Regions from separate parts of the Homo sapiens genome. Here region 2 is linked to region 1. Evidence: promoter capture Hi-C in human tissues and cell types (Jung and others, 2019). All regions are on one chromosome and are shown on one strand. Each heading gives the region's core, a stretch centred on a gene start or on the middle of the fragment in contact. The rest is flanking DNA. Distances are from core to core; before and after follow the strand shown.

Region 1 (6,702 bases), core at 2,959-5,458:
CAGACCAGCCACATTTCAAGGGCTCAAAAGCCACAGGTGGCTAGCAGCTACCACAATGAACAGACAGATCTGGAGCTTGGAGAAAGGGTCCTCCATGAGCACCTGGACTTTGGAAGTAGACTGTGTCCAGGTTCACGCTGAAACTGTTCAACAGGTTACCTAAAAAGCAATGCAATTTTCTTAAATGGGGACTTTCAAGAATTTGCAGTTAGATTGCCATTCATTTCCCATGTAAGAAACGTATCCATTTTGGGCTGGGCATGGTGGCGCACGCCTGTAATCCCAGCACTTTGGGAGGCCAAGGCGGGCAGATCACCTGAGGTCAGGAGTTTGATACAAGCCTAGCCAACATGGTGAAACCTCGTCTCTACTAAAAATACAAAAAAATTAGCTGAGCATGGTGGCGGGCGCCTGTAGTCCTAGCTACTGAGGAGGCTGAGGCAGGAAAATTGCTTGAAACCAGGAGGTGGAGGTTGCAGTGAGCTGAGATAATGCCACTGCACTCCAGCCTGGGTGACAGGGTGAGACTCCGTTTCAAAACACAAAACAGAACAAAAACAAAAACAAAACAAAACAAAAACCAGGGCTTTGAGAAATGTATCATTTTGTTTATGGCAATGTACTGGGGCAAAGGGACCGGAATGTATCAGGATGCTCCCTCTCTCTAGACAGAATGATTGATACAGAAAAGGAAAATGGCAGAGTTTGCAAATCTACATCTTCTGCTTTCTTCATACAAATATAATACTATAATCCAGAGGTGAGGTAGAATGATTCCTAAAACCAATCATTGCTTTAGAGGTTCCATTTGTAAATAGAAACTCCATTTCTAGGTAGAACTGCCCAATAATTCTGAGTAGAATTACTCGGTGCCACATACAAGGAGGATGCTCTAGAGCCAGCCTCCTTTCTCAGGCAGTTTTTACTGCTGGTCTGTTCTGCCCAAACAGAGAGATGGAAGAGATGGCTTTCCCAAGCCTCACACAATCCTATGATGCCATGATTTATCAGATATAAAATAAACAAGGTAATGTTTCCCTCAAATAATGGGTGTGAGATGAACGCAATTCAAGTCAAATTGCTTTCATTTTTGGAAGGCAGAGAAAGCAAGGAGATGAATGTTGATGCAGTTGAATATTTATATCTCTTAAACTTGCTTTTAAAATCCATTCTGCCCTTTCTCTTCTCTCTCCTTTATCTATGCAATCACTTGCTAATTCCTGTGAATTGAACTTTGAAATGTTTGATACATAGAACTGTCATATCCATTATCTTTTCATCTCTTTTTCGCTTAGGCCTTATTACCTCGGCCCAAACTGTTACATCTGTCTGCTGCCTGGCAGCTTCACCTCTGGACTCCTAAGACTTGAAACTATCTTACAGAACATTTCCAAGTGAATATTCCCAAATGAGCTGCTATGTGGGTCCTCTTTTGAACTCCTTCCACAGTTCCCTGTCGCTCAATACACTAAAGATTCCAAGTCCCCAAGATGTAGTCTCAAATTGCTTTGTCAGTTTTACGCCTGTGTCCAATCTTGACCTTACCATGCTCTTTTTGAACTAGAAACGATAAATTATCCTGTAAGACTTCTTACTTCTGGGACTCTGTTTCATGTACGACTGCTTACCAACTCTCTCAAAAATATCTGGTGTAATCTGACCCATCCTTCAATTCTCTTTGCAAATGCCACCTCATCAATGAAGTCCTTACAGATTCCTCCAAATAGCGTGTTTATTATCCTTATTCCTTTGAAGCCATTTACTAGTCAGAACTTCTCTTCCAGCCCCTATACATATATCCTAATTGCTGCTACTGGAATATAAATTCTTTGAAGGCAGAAATTGTGTCTTTTCACATCAGAATCATTTCCACATTGCTGCTGTACAATAACTTGACTTACATTTAATCATTGTACATAAATCACAAAGTAAATTAGTATCTCTTATCTGAATGCAGTTATGTGAGCCCTGACTTTGATGTCCAGGAATTTAGGAACTCTATTTTTATCATAAGAATAAAAACTTTTCTAAAATATCCCTCAAGGAAGATCAAAGGCAAATGAGGGTCTAAATGTCCTTTCCTTTGATGGAGGACTCGAATACTGATAGTATTCAAGACCTTCATCCTAGAATAACCGAGGTCTCCGGGTACATTTTTCATTCTGTCTAACCTGGCAAGCATCTAGATAAAAATCAGGAGTCTAGAACAAATGCAAACTCTATTGGTTAAAATTCAGATCCTCTGGCAGAGGCCAGATGGGAATGTAGCTGGTTCATTACATGTCCCTACTCGGCTTGTGAAGCAAACAGCCCAGGGTGGACCAAAATCTAGCTGTTTTACCACTACAAAAGAAATAGATTTCTGATTACACAAGTCCTTGGTGTCCACATTCTTCCCCTTCTCAAGTCAAAGTGAATTATGTGTTTTAAGTTAGCACATTAATTTCCCAATGGTAAAAGAAAGTTCAATAAAGCTAGACTACTATGCCACTTGGAACTGCCATGATTACAATATCAAAATATCTAGAGCACTCATGTTCCACCTATCAAAACAACAGCAAGAAAACATTTGCCACCTTTATTAGCTTGTCACACTCCTGCCCCCACTACTACAGCAAATGATACTCTAACATGCTCTCTAGTGTGTGTATGTGTGTCTACGTATTAATATATAAGTATATATACACACACATATATATCTTACCGCAAATTAAAATCTGGCAAATGTAGGCTTGAAATCAACAAGCCAACACAGTTAAGCAAACAGACATTTCTCCAGAATGCTGCCTGAAATGTAACCAAGACCTCTTCACATCACTGGCCAGCCAACAGCCAGCCCGCAGCTAGGAGTCTGAAGTCATTTCCCTGCCGGGAGAAAAGTTGAGCGACTCCTCATCGCTGAGACCTGGAGGTGTCTGTAACCCAAACTGTACCTGCTGAAGCCTTACGTAAAAACGTAAAAACCACCTTGTCATTGCCCAGCGCCTACAACTGACATCTCCAATTTCACAACAACCTGCAGCGAAGCTGACTTTTTCCAGAAACCGCAAACACTCAACGGAGAGAAAGGGGATCCTGGAGATCCCTGAAATGGCTAACATTTCAGGGGAGACGGAAAAATAAAAACTTTCTTGTCCCCAGCTCACTCGCTTCTTAAGGGAAAGGCATGAGGTGGGACAGGCAAACCTTGGCAAGTGCCCGAGGGGACTGGAGAGCTGTCAGCCCCAGGTGCGCAGCGTGGTCCGGGCAGCTCTGGGGGGATCCGGCAGGGCACCCCCATATTCGCTCCCCTCCTGCCCACCTGCACCCCATCATCCTCACACCCACGCCCACCCCGGCTCGGAGCGTGGCCAGGAGAGTCGGCATCGTAGAAAGCGCTGCGGGAAGCGGGCCCCCTCCCGCCCACCCGGACTCACGATCTTCAGCAGGTCCAGTCCACTCCCCTGATTCATGTCTCTCCATGTGCCTCTCCCGGGAAGGGGCGAGGAGGGCCAGCTGGAGCAACCCGGGAGAAGTCTGGGAGGACTGGCAGGTCTCCCCCGCCCTTCCCCACTGGCTTTTCGGAAGCAGAGAAAAATGGAAGCCGAGGCAGAGCCAGGAAAAGGCGCAAAGGGGCAGGGTCCCCGGCGCCAGGAGAGGAGCAGAGGGTGGGCAGGCGACGAGGGGAGGAGGTGCGAGGCTAGAGATCCCTGCAGTGGAGGCGCCGGGAGAACCCGAGGTCGGTGCCCTGCCCGGCGGCTCACAAAGGAAGGAGAAGGCGCCGCGCTCTCGCTACCTGTGCGGCGGCTCCGAGCGCCCCCGCGGGAGCCACGTTCTCTAGCAGTTCCATCTGGATCTCCTGCGCCACCGCCGCCGCCGCTGTGGGAGGCGACTTGGACATGTCCCTTTGGACCATTGGCGAAAAGTCGGCTCGGAGCGAAGCAGCCAGCCCCCGGCGGCGGGTCCCCTCCTCCTCGCCCCCGCCTCCCCGCGCTCTGATCGGCTCTGGGGGCCGCCCAGGGCTCAGGCCCGGCCGTTCTCGGCGCAGCGCCCCGCAGCGCCCCGGGACTCGGCGCCCTGCTGCCAGGCGCTCAGTGCGCGGGACGGGGCCGGGGCATCGGGCGAAGCGAGCCGCTCGGGAGGCGGGACGCGGGGGCGCGGCTGCGGTGCCTGGGAGAGGGGAGCCCTCAGCGGGGCAGCCGGGGCCGGGAGAGCGGGCGCAGCGCGGCGGGGATCGGAGCCGCGGGCGCCGGGAAAGGTCCTCGCCAGGAGGGGAGGGAACTCCGGGAGCGCGAGCCAGGGGGAGGCGCGTCGGAAAGCGAGAGTGACAAGCAGCCTACAAGCCGAAAAGTTCCTCGCGGGAGGCGCGCGCCGCGTGGGCTCCGACTCAGCCGCTGCGCGTCGCCGTGGCACACAGGCTGAAAAGTTTGCGAAGCCACAGAAGCCAGGCCCGGCGCTCAGGGGGCCTTGATCCTGTTCCCATGGCCCCAGACCACCCCTCAGGAACCCTTAGAGCAGATCTCTTAACTTTGGAGGGGAAGGACGACGGAGGCTGGGTTCCTACACTGAAAGTTTTAAATTTGTAAAGCCTGCTGGCAGCCCGGGAGAGCAAATGTCTGCAAAGAACATCTTCTGGGCAGCTGAAAGCCCTTGCTAATGTCAGTAATAAGGATCCAGAGAAAGAAATGGCATTGATAAAGATCATCAGGTGATCCCACCTGAATCTGCAGCTGGCCTCGTCAACTAGGTGGGAATCCACCCAACCTGAGACCGAATGTTTTGCTTTATGACTGCTGTCTTCATCTTTGCCAAATTAAATTAGCACTTCTTTCCAAACATAATTGAAGTTTGTTGTTGTTGTTGCTTGTTGTTGTTTTAGACGGAGTCTCACTCTGTCGCCCAGGCTGGAGTGCAATGGCGCGATCTCAGCTCACTGCAACCTCCGCCTCCTGGGTTCAAGCGATTCTCTAGCCTCAGCCTCACGAATAGCTGGGATTACAGCCACAGGCCACCAAGCCCAGATAATTTTTGTGTTTTTAGTGCAGACGGGGTTTCACCATGTTGCCCGGGCTGGTCTTGAACTCCTGACCTCAAGTAATCCACCGGCCTCGGCCTCCCAAAGTGCTGGGATCACAGGGGTGGGACACCACGCCAGGCCAGGGTTGAGGTTTTTCTATAGGGGTGAAAAGTCTTAGTGTCACATTTTTGACAAAACAAGCACTTCCTTAAGATCCAGAATTCTTGATAACAGGATAGTGACTATGGTGAGGGTGTTTCACTTACAACATTCCGTTCAGATAGTCCCAAGGAGCCACATTTTTACATGATTGAGTGCAACTTATTTCAACAAATTTTACTACAGTGGAAACTTCTGTAATGAGTTTTCCAGGCATTTTTTTTTTTTTTTTTTTGAGACAGAATTTCACTCTTGTCACCCAGGCAGGAATACAGTGGCACGATCTTGGCTCACTGCAACCTTCGCCTCCTGGGTTCAATCCATTCTCCTGCCTCAGCCTCCCGAGTAGCTGGGATTACAGGTGCACGCCACCACAGCCGGCTAATTTTTTTGTATTTTTAGTAGAGATGGGGTTTCACCACGTTGCCCAGGCTGGTCTCGAACTCCTGACCTCAGGTGATCTGCCCGCCTCTGCCTCCCAAAGTGCTGGGATTACAGATTTGAGCCACTGCATCCAGCCTAATTTTTGTATTTTTTAGTAGAGACAGGGTTTCGCCATGTTGGCCAGGCTGGTCGCAAACTCCTGACCTCATGATCCGCCCACCTTGGCCTCCCAAAGTGCTGGGATTACAGGTGTGAGCCACCGTGCCCATCCAGCTCCAGAAACCTATTTATATGTTATTTTGTAACAACAAACTGAAAGTTTGGTATATTGAAATACACATGCAAAAATTTACTATAATAGGCTTCAACTGCCTTCTATAGTTTACTATGATATATTAAATTACATGAGATACAGTACTTTTCTCCTCAAAGATAAGCATAGACATTTTAAACCTATCATCTCCACCATAGCACTGATTTGCGCCAGGCTTAAAGAATGGGTCTTGATACAGTTAAAGATTTAGCCATAAAGCATCATTGATTTTCCTAAACTTTGGTATTAAAAATGCCACTTTTATGGGCTACGGACACAAATAGAAAATTCTCAAAAGAAGATATACAAATGGCCAACAAACATATGAGAAAATGCTCAACATCAATAATGATCAGGGAAATGCAACTCAAAACCACAAAGTGATACCACCTTACCCCTGTAAGAATGACCATAATCAAAGAATCAAAAAACAGATGTTGGCATGGATGCAGTGATCAGGGAACACTTCTGCACTGCTGGTGGGAATGTAAACTAGTACAGCCACTATGGAAAACAGTGTGGAGATTCCTTAAAGGACTAAAAGTAGAACTACCATTTGATGTAGCAATGCCACTACTGGGTATCTACCCAGAGGAAAAGAAGTCATGATTCAAAAAATATACTTGCACATGCATGTTTACAGCAGCACAATTCACAGTAGCAAAATTGTGGAACCAACCCAAATGCCCATCAATCAACGAGGTGATAAAGAAACTCTGATATATATGATGATGGGATACTACTCAGCCATGAAAAGAAATAAATTAACAGCATTTGCAATGACCTGGATGAGATTAGAGACTATTATTCTAAGTGAAGTAACTCAGGAATGGAAAATCGAACATCATAT
Region 2 (6,897 bases), core at 1,655-4,154, 87 kb before region 1:
TAAATCACAAGATTTCTCTATGCTTGCTGTTTTGAAAGTGGGTGTCGAGTTTCGATACTAAAGGTTGCATGGCATATTCCAGTTTCTCCAAATGGTAGGAGTAATGCCATATGTAATTTTACCGTAGTACATCTTAATTTGAATCTATTTAACTACATAAAAATTACCATAAACATCCTTCTAAAAAGGGCTCTAACATCATAGCTATAATACTTCATTGACAAACATAACTATAAACCAACCTATAAATATATGAATCTATAGCTAAAAATTAGGACTGTTTACCATAGAAGAGTGTTTTCTTTTGATTTAACAAATATGATACCTACTAAAGAACTGTCCTTTTAAAAAGCCTGTCATTTTGTTAATATTTTAATACATTTTTCATGCTGCTAAATATTTTAAGGATTATCATAAAAATATAAATACATTCCTTAAATGATTTTCATATCTTACCAAGCAAAATTGAAAAAAGTTTAAAAGTGCATTTTCTATTTGCTTTGTACAGTGCTACTTTGAACTATTTAACTCCATGAACTTTAAAATCCCACATTAAATTTGGCTGGGTACATATCTGTGGTCTAATAAGACTAATTTTAGATCTCTGCTATTTTCCCAAGCAGAAATACAACTAAAGTTTTGAACTTCTGCCTCAACCCCTCAATATGGGAATAACGATTCTTGTTTTATAAGAATAAATAAAATCATGTAATTGAAATTATGGATTTAGTCTTCAGATTGCCAACATGCTGATCTCCTTTCCTTAATTAATATTCTAATATTATGCATACTAATAAATAATACTAATTTCTCACACTAATTACACTATCATTACTTACATGACCAAATAAGAAACACAGTTCAGATAGTTTATCTTGCTTGTGTATATATTTGCTGTAACAATGCTTTTTAGAACTGCAAAGAAATCCATTAAGAGAGCCGGATGCGGTGGCTCATGCCTGTAATCCCACCACTTTGTGAGGCTGAGGCAGGTGGATCACTTGAGGTCAGGAGTTCGAGACCAGCTTGGCCCACGTGGTGAAACCCCATCTCTACTAAAAATACAAAAATAATTAGCCAGGCATGGTGGCACATGCTTGTAATCCCAGCTACTTGGGAGGCTGAGGCAGGAGAATCCTTGAACCCAGGAGGCAGAGGCTGCAGCGAGCTGGGATCGCACCATTGCACTCCAACCTGGGTGACAAGAGTGAAACTCTGTCTCAAAAGAAAAAAAAAATCCATTAAGAGGGAAGAGGGTAAAAACGAGCCACTCACAACAAAACTGACACAGGCTGTCTCTGCAAGTCATTGAGTGATATCTGTCCCATGTGTTCTTCCAACTGTCCTACCGACACTAACTTGTACAAGATCACACATCCAGGACGTGAAAGACCTGGATTCAAATACAGGAGGTTGTCTTTTGAGGATACATCCTTCACTATTCTTTCATGTCTGGTAAGACTAATAAGATGCTTTCCATCTTTGCCTAAAAACAATGTATTATGTTTTTTCTTTTCTTTTTTTTTTTCTTTTTTTTTTTTTTTTGAGGTAGAGTTTTGCTCTTGTTGCTCAGGCTGGAGTGCAATGTCGCCATCTCGGCTCACCGCAACCTCTGCCTTCCAAGTTCAAGCGATTGTTCTCCTGCCTCAGCCTCCCAAGTAGCTGGGATTACAGGCATGTGCCACCACATCCGGCTAACTTTGAATTTATTTTTTTTAGTAGAGACAAGGTTTCACCATGTTGACCACGCTGGTCTCGAACTCCTGGCCTTAGGTGATTCACCCGCCTTGGCCTCCCTAAGTGCTAGGATTACAAGGCGTGAGTCACCGCGTCCGGCCTATTTTTCTTTTTCCCCCCAAATGAACCATCAACTAACCCAACCTTTTGAGGGTGAGGTTTTCATTTGTACACCAAAAGACACTCTGTGGAAAAGGCTGTCCCCTACCCTGAAAGAATGTAAAAATGTTGACTGCAAATTTTTTTTTCCTCCTTTCAGAGCATGCACTGAAGACAGCACTAGCATCTTCTCACTCTCTCAATCATCAAATTTATGATGTTGGAGTGGAGACAAAAGTGACTCTATCTTGGATGTTAATTCACCATGTTGACTTCTGATGAGCCCCAGTCCAATAAATGCCTTTTGATTCCTACTTTATTTACTGTCTCTTGTATGACAACATGTCAACCTTAACGTCACTGCACAAATTATAGGCGGTGAGGCACGCAGCATACTTGTCTATTCTGGAGGGTGCCTTTAATCACCTTGCTGGAGCGCATACTCCCTTTCCCTATGGTAGATAAGCGCTGGGTCTGGAAAGTAACAGCGCAGAGATCTGCCTGTCTTGCGGCCGCCCAAGACCACCTTTCTGTTGTTAAGTTCCCTCAATAAATCACCCAGTTCCAACAAACTGTCTCTTTGATTTCTCAGCTCCTTTGGCATTTGGGTTTGCTTTGCCTTTATGTGCCTTTCATGGAACACTACTGAATTGAAATAACGTTAGTACCCCCATCTCTGCGCTTTCCTCCTCCTTCCATCCATCAGTTCATTCCGAGCTGGGGTATTTTTTTTCTCCTATCTCTCTTTGACTGCATACCCTCTGACATGGAAGCCTCCAGAGCCTCCAGCCACTCCCCAGCCCACACCAAATCCTCCCCCTGGCCATCCAGCAACCAGGGGCCCCAAATCTGCGCTTCTGGATCACAGCTATGCCTGTGCTTCTGCTCCTCCTCTCGGTACAGAAGGCACTGCCCCTTCTCCTTCTTTTGCTTTGATCTGATGCACTCACCAAGACCCAGTTTGCTGACCTCCCTTCTGAGAAGTGCTACTGACCCCATTACGATATTCGACATAAAATTCTTCCTATCATTTCAGAAAACGTGTTGTTTTATCATTATGGTCTTTTCAGAAGGGAGATTTCTTTTTCTGCCTCTAATGTGGGCTGCTAATGTCATCCTCAGAGCTATGGGTGAAGAAATAGTCTCATTTAAGTGGCCATTCTCCTTGATTTGAAAGTGCAGCTAAATAACCCTCGCTCCCTCCTCCCCCACTTTTTTTCCATATTCCCAGGCTGGATAGTAGCAACATCTGAAAGAGACACCAATAACCGCAGACCTGTACAGTGTGGCAAAACTGGGAGTTAAAAGACAGGAGTTAAAATCCTGGCTGTATTCTGCCTGTGTCTTGGGGTGGTTTGATATTTCCTGGCTTACTTCTTTCCTGTGGTTTCTGGGTAAGATTTAAATGAGATTATACCTGCAAAAACTGTTTGTAAACCATTAAACAGTATACAAATGTAAGACAGAATAGACATTCAATTGATATTGATTGAGTTAATTCATTAGTGATCATACGGCCACACGCTCATGAATCTCAAGAAGTGCCGGCAGATCGTAGAAGCAACAAACAGGAAGATCAGGTTTTAAATCCCCATCTCTGCCTCTTACTGGCTGTGTAGCCTGGGGTCATACCAAATGAAGGAACCACAGCAGGGGACTGGTTTATAAGGAGCATTAAAACATCACTAGGGTAATTTGGGAAAAGGAATAGTTAACTCAGATCTCACTGTAACTCTTACAAAGCTAACAAAATGCATTATGGATCCAGCTTCTGCTGAAGTAGCCGATGCCAGTCAATAGAAACTTAAAACCATCCGTCTGGGGGCGGTGGCTCACACCTGTAATCCCAGTACTCTGGGAGGCTGAGGTGAATGGATCACTTGAGCTCAGGAGTTCGAAATTAGCCTGGGCAACATGGCAAAACCTCTTCGCTACCAAAAATACAAAAATTAGCCAGGCATGGTGGCACACACCTGTAGTCCCAGCTACCAGGGAGGATGAGGTGGGAGGATCACTTCAGCCCAGGAGGCGGAGGTTGCAGTAAGCCTAGATCACACCACAGCACTCCAGCCCGGGCTACACAGCAAGACCCTGTCTCAAGAAAAAAAAAAAGAAAAGAAAAGAAAAGAAAATTAAAAAAAAGCATCTCTCATCATGCTAGCCTGCCCTCCACTAAGAACATGTCTTTAATATTTGAAAATTAGGCCAGGTCCAGTGCTTCACACCTGTAATCCCAGTGCTTTGGAAGGCTGAGGCAGGAGGATCACTTAAGCCCAGGAGCTGGAGACCAGCCTGAGCAACATAGTGGGACCCCATTTCTACAAAAATTTAAAAACTTATCCAGGTGTGATGGTGCACATCTGTAGTTCCAGCTACTAGGGTGACTGAGGTGGGAAGATCATTAGAGCCCGGGAGGTGGAGGTTGCCGTGAGCTATGATGGCACCACTGCACTCTAGCCTGGGTGACAGAGGGAGACCCTGCCAAAAAGATGAAAGAAAGGAAAAGAAAGAAAGGAAGGAAGGAAGAAACGACGGAAGAAAGGAAGGAAGGAAGGAAGGAAGGAGCGAGGGAGGGAGGGAGGGAGGGAAAAGAAAGAAAAGAAAGAAAAAGAAAAGAAAAGAGAGAGAGAAAATTATTTGAATGAAGACTAACACAGAGCCTGCCTGTGGTGTCACGAATCCTGGTTCAGTCCTGGACCCAGGCCATATTTCTTAAACCCTCAGTTTCTTACATTGTAAAATGGGGCATCTAATATTTATCATGAAAGGCTGTTGTAATATTTTGAGGTGACCTACGAAAAGTTTGCATCAAGTAGGGACTTAATAAACTGGAAGTGAGTGGTGTGGTTTTTAAGCTGCTTAGCCCTGTCTCTCCAGGCTTTACCCTCCCCCATCCCCCATCCTCTGCCAGGGATTTTGTAATATCTGATATTAAAAAGGTTCTGCCGACTCCTCCCAGCTCAACAGAACATGGAAAAATACAATAGATCACTTTAAAAAAAAAAAGCTTATTATGTGCAGCCAAAAGCCTGAGAAACAGCAGGTCACATAAAATGAAGGAAATGAAATGTCCATGCTAAGTAATTATGTAGCCTTGGCCTTGAGCAAACAGAGGGCTGGCTGACATCAGAAAAGAACAAGGGCCATAGAGAGCGAAACACGCGGACACCTTGGTGTCCACACTAGGCTCATCCTGAAAAAGGGAGTGGAAATTGACAGGCTGAGGTATAGATGAATGTGCCTGTCAGGATGTAGCAGGGAGGAGGCGGAGCTTAGGCCACCTTAAGGGAGGACTGAGGCCCTTTAACCTGTTTCTGCTCCTGCAATCTGGAGATGGCATGACTTCGATTTGGCTCGGCAGGCCGTAAAAGCCCGCAGTAAAGTTATTACCTTGAAAGAGTGATTCTATATTGGACTGAACTCCCACAAACGCTGGGCTGGTCATGGTTGTGGGACGTAGGCCTTCTGTTCCCAAGCATAACCTCCTACTCTCTGACACAGGAGACTAGGGGGCCCAGGTTCTCATCCAGGTTCTATCAGAACGAGCTTCTTAACCTGATCCAAGTTGCTAACTAACTTGGGGTAAAATGAGAATATGAGCATCTGTCCCAACCCTTCGTGGGTTAGAGAAAGAAATTCTTTGGAAAGTATAAAGTAGCTACAAAATGAGGAACTTTAAGGAGCCGGGTAATTTTCTTCAATAAAATGGATTTCCTTTAATTTTGTATGAAACTCACTTCCCAAAATCGATTTCATATCAGCTGAGCTTTGAGACTACAAAGAAATTGGAATTTTTTTTTTTTTGAAGGGAGAAGTTGAAAGAGGGAGGGAAGAGGAGGGAGAAGGCACACGGAAGGTAGGTCTTAATCATATTTAAGCCTGATAAAAAGGAGTTAGAAAGTTTGCTGTGTTTAAAGCAGTTGTTCATAGTCCTAGAAACCATTCTAGCCAAAAAAGACAAGAAACAGCAGAGACTTTCGCTAAGAGGTTTAGGAAAAGCAAACATTGCAAAAGAGTAATATTTTATTTTATATCTAATTTGTCCTTATTACTCATCTCTAGGGCCACCTAAAAGCAGTCCTTATCAAACTAAACCTCATTAATTCTAGATATGAAAATGAGTCCACTTTTCCCAGGACAAAAAAAAAAAATAGACCCCTTAGTTTAAGATGCAGTGATATGTTAGTAGAAGGGGTAGGCTGCCTATTATCTATTTTTCTGTACATATTTCACTAGATGGAAGAGTTCCCATTTTCTAAGAGCCTAGCAGTTTCTGTTTTATTGGGGGGAAAAGCAACACAAAGGGAAAATTTAAAAATAAAATTTCTGCAATAGGATTCTGTCTCTGAAATTGAAGACAAAAATTCTCCTTAATATTATTACAGCTTTATTTTTAAAAACTAAAAAGGAAATTAAAATATTAATAGTGGTTGTATCTGGTGATGAAAGAAAAAGACTGTAGTACTTTTAAATGTTTTGTTAGTTACCATATAATAGTTTATACTGAAAAATTTCATTTTTAAATAAAGAAAAAAATGTTTCCTAATGTAAAAAGAAGGGAACATAGGAGCATTCTGTTTTATGTGCTTTTCTGCATAAGTATTAAAAACTACTACATTTTTACTATAACGATTGCTCCTGAAAATCGTGTAAAATACATTAAATAATCAATAATTATTCATGGAACAAGAGGAATGTATTAGTAGTGTAATACTCTTTTGCTTTCACAAAAATTAAATATGCTAAATGAAATTTCATTTATTCATTCAACAAACATTGGCTGGATGTATATTACTGACTAGCCTCTTTAATGACATTCTCTTCTGCAGTGCTGTGGAGTTGTAATTATTTATGCCAATTATTAATATTCAGTATTACATATATAGAAGGTGTTGGATATATGATTTAATAGTTCATATTTGAAGACCAGATATGTAGGGATTAAGCAAAAGGCATCAAAATCAAACAAATCTTTCTGAAGCAAAATTAGCAATGCTCAAAATCCTATTTAAATGGCTCATCTGTGTGTGTGTCATGCCCATAAATATGCCCATGACTGAC

What was found. The method cuts DNA at HindIII sites, captures the fragments that hold promoters and counts their contacts. A contact is called where the count stands out against the background at its distance.
Region 2: a contact is called between a fragment that was not itself captured here and the fragment with the promoter of CACNB2 in region 1, in 2 of the 25 tissues and cell types used here (aorta and pancreas).

The regions. Positions count from the first base shown.
Region 1 is chr10:18,137,930-18,144,631 of GRCh38, reverse strand. CACNB2 (calcium voltage-gated channel auxiliary subunit beta 2) reads right to left here and starts at 4,208. Exons shown (of 14, transcript NM_201596.3): 1 at 3,776-4,208. The coding sequence starts at 3,895. The HindIII fragment of the contact is 13,208 bases long and covers 1-6,702 here.
Region 2 is chr10:18,223,082-18,229,978 of GRCh38, reverse strand. All of the region lies in intron 2 of CACNB2 (calcium voltage-gated channel auxiliary subunit beta 2), which reads right to left. Among named protein-coding and RNA genes, the nearest start is that of CACNB2-AS2, 35 kb to the left of the region's middle. The HindIII fragment of the contact is 9,297 bases long and covers 1-6,897 here.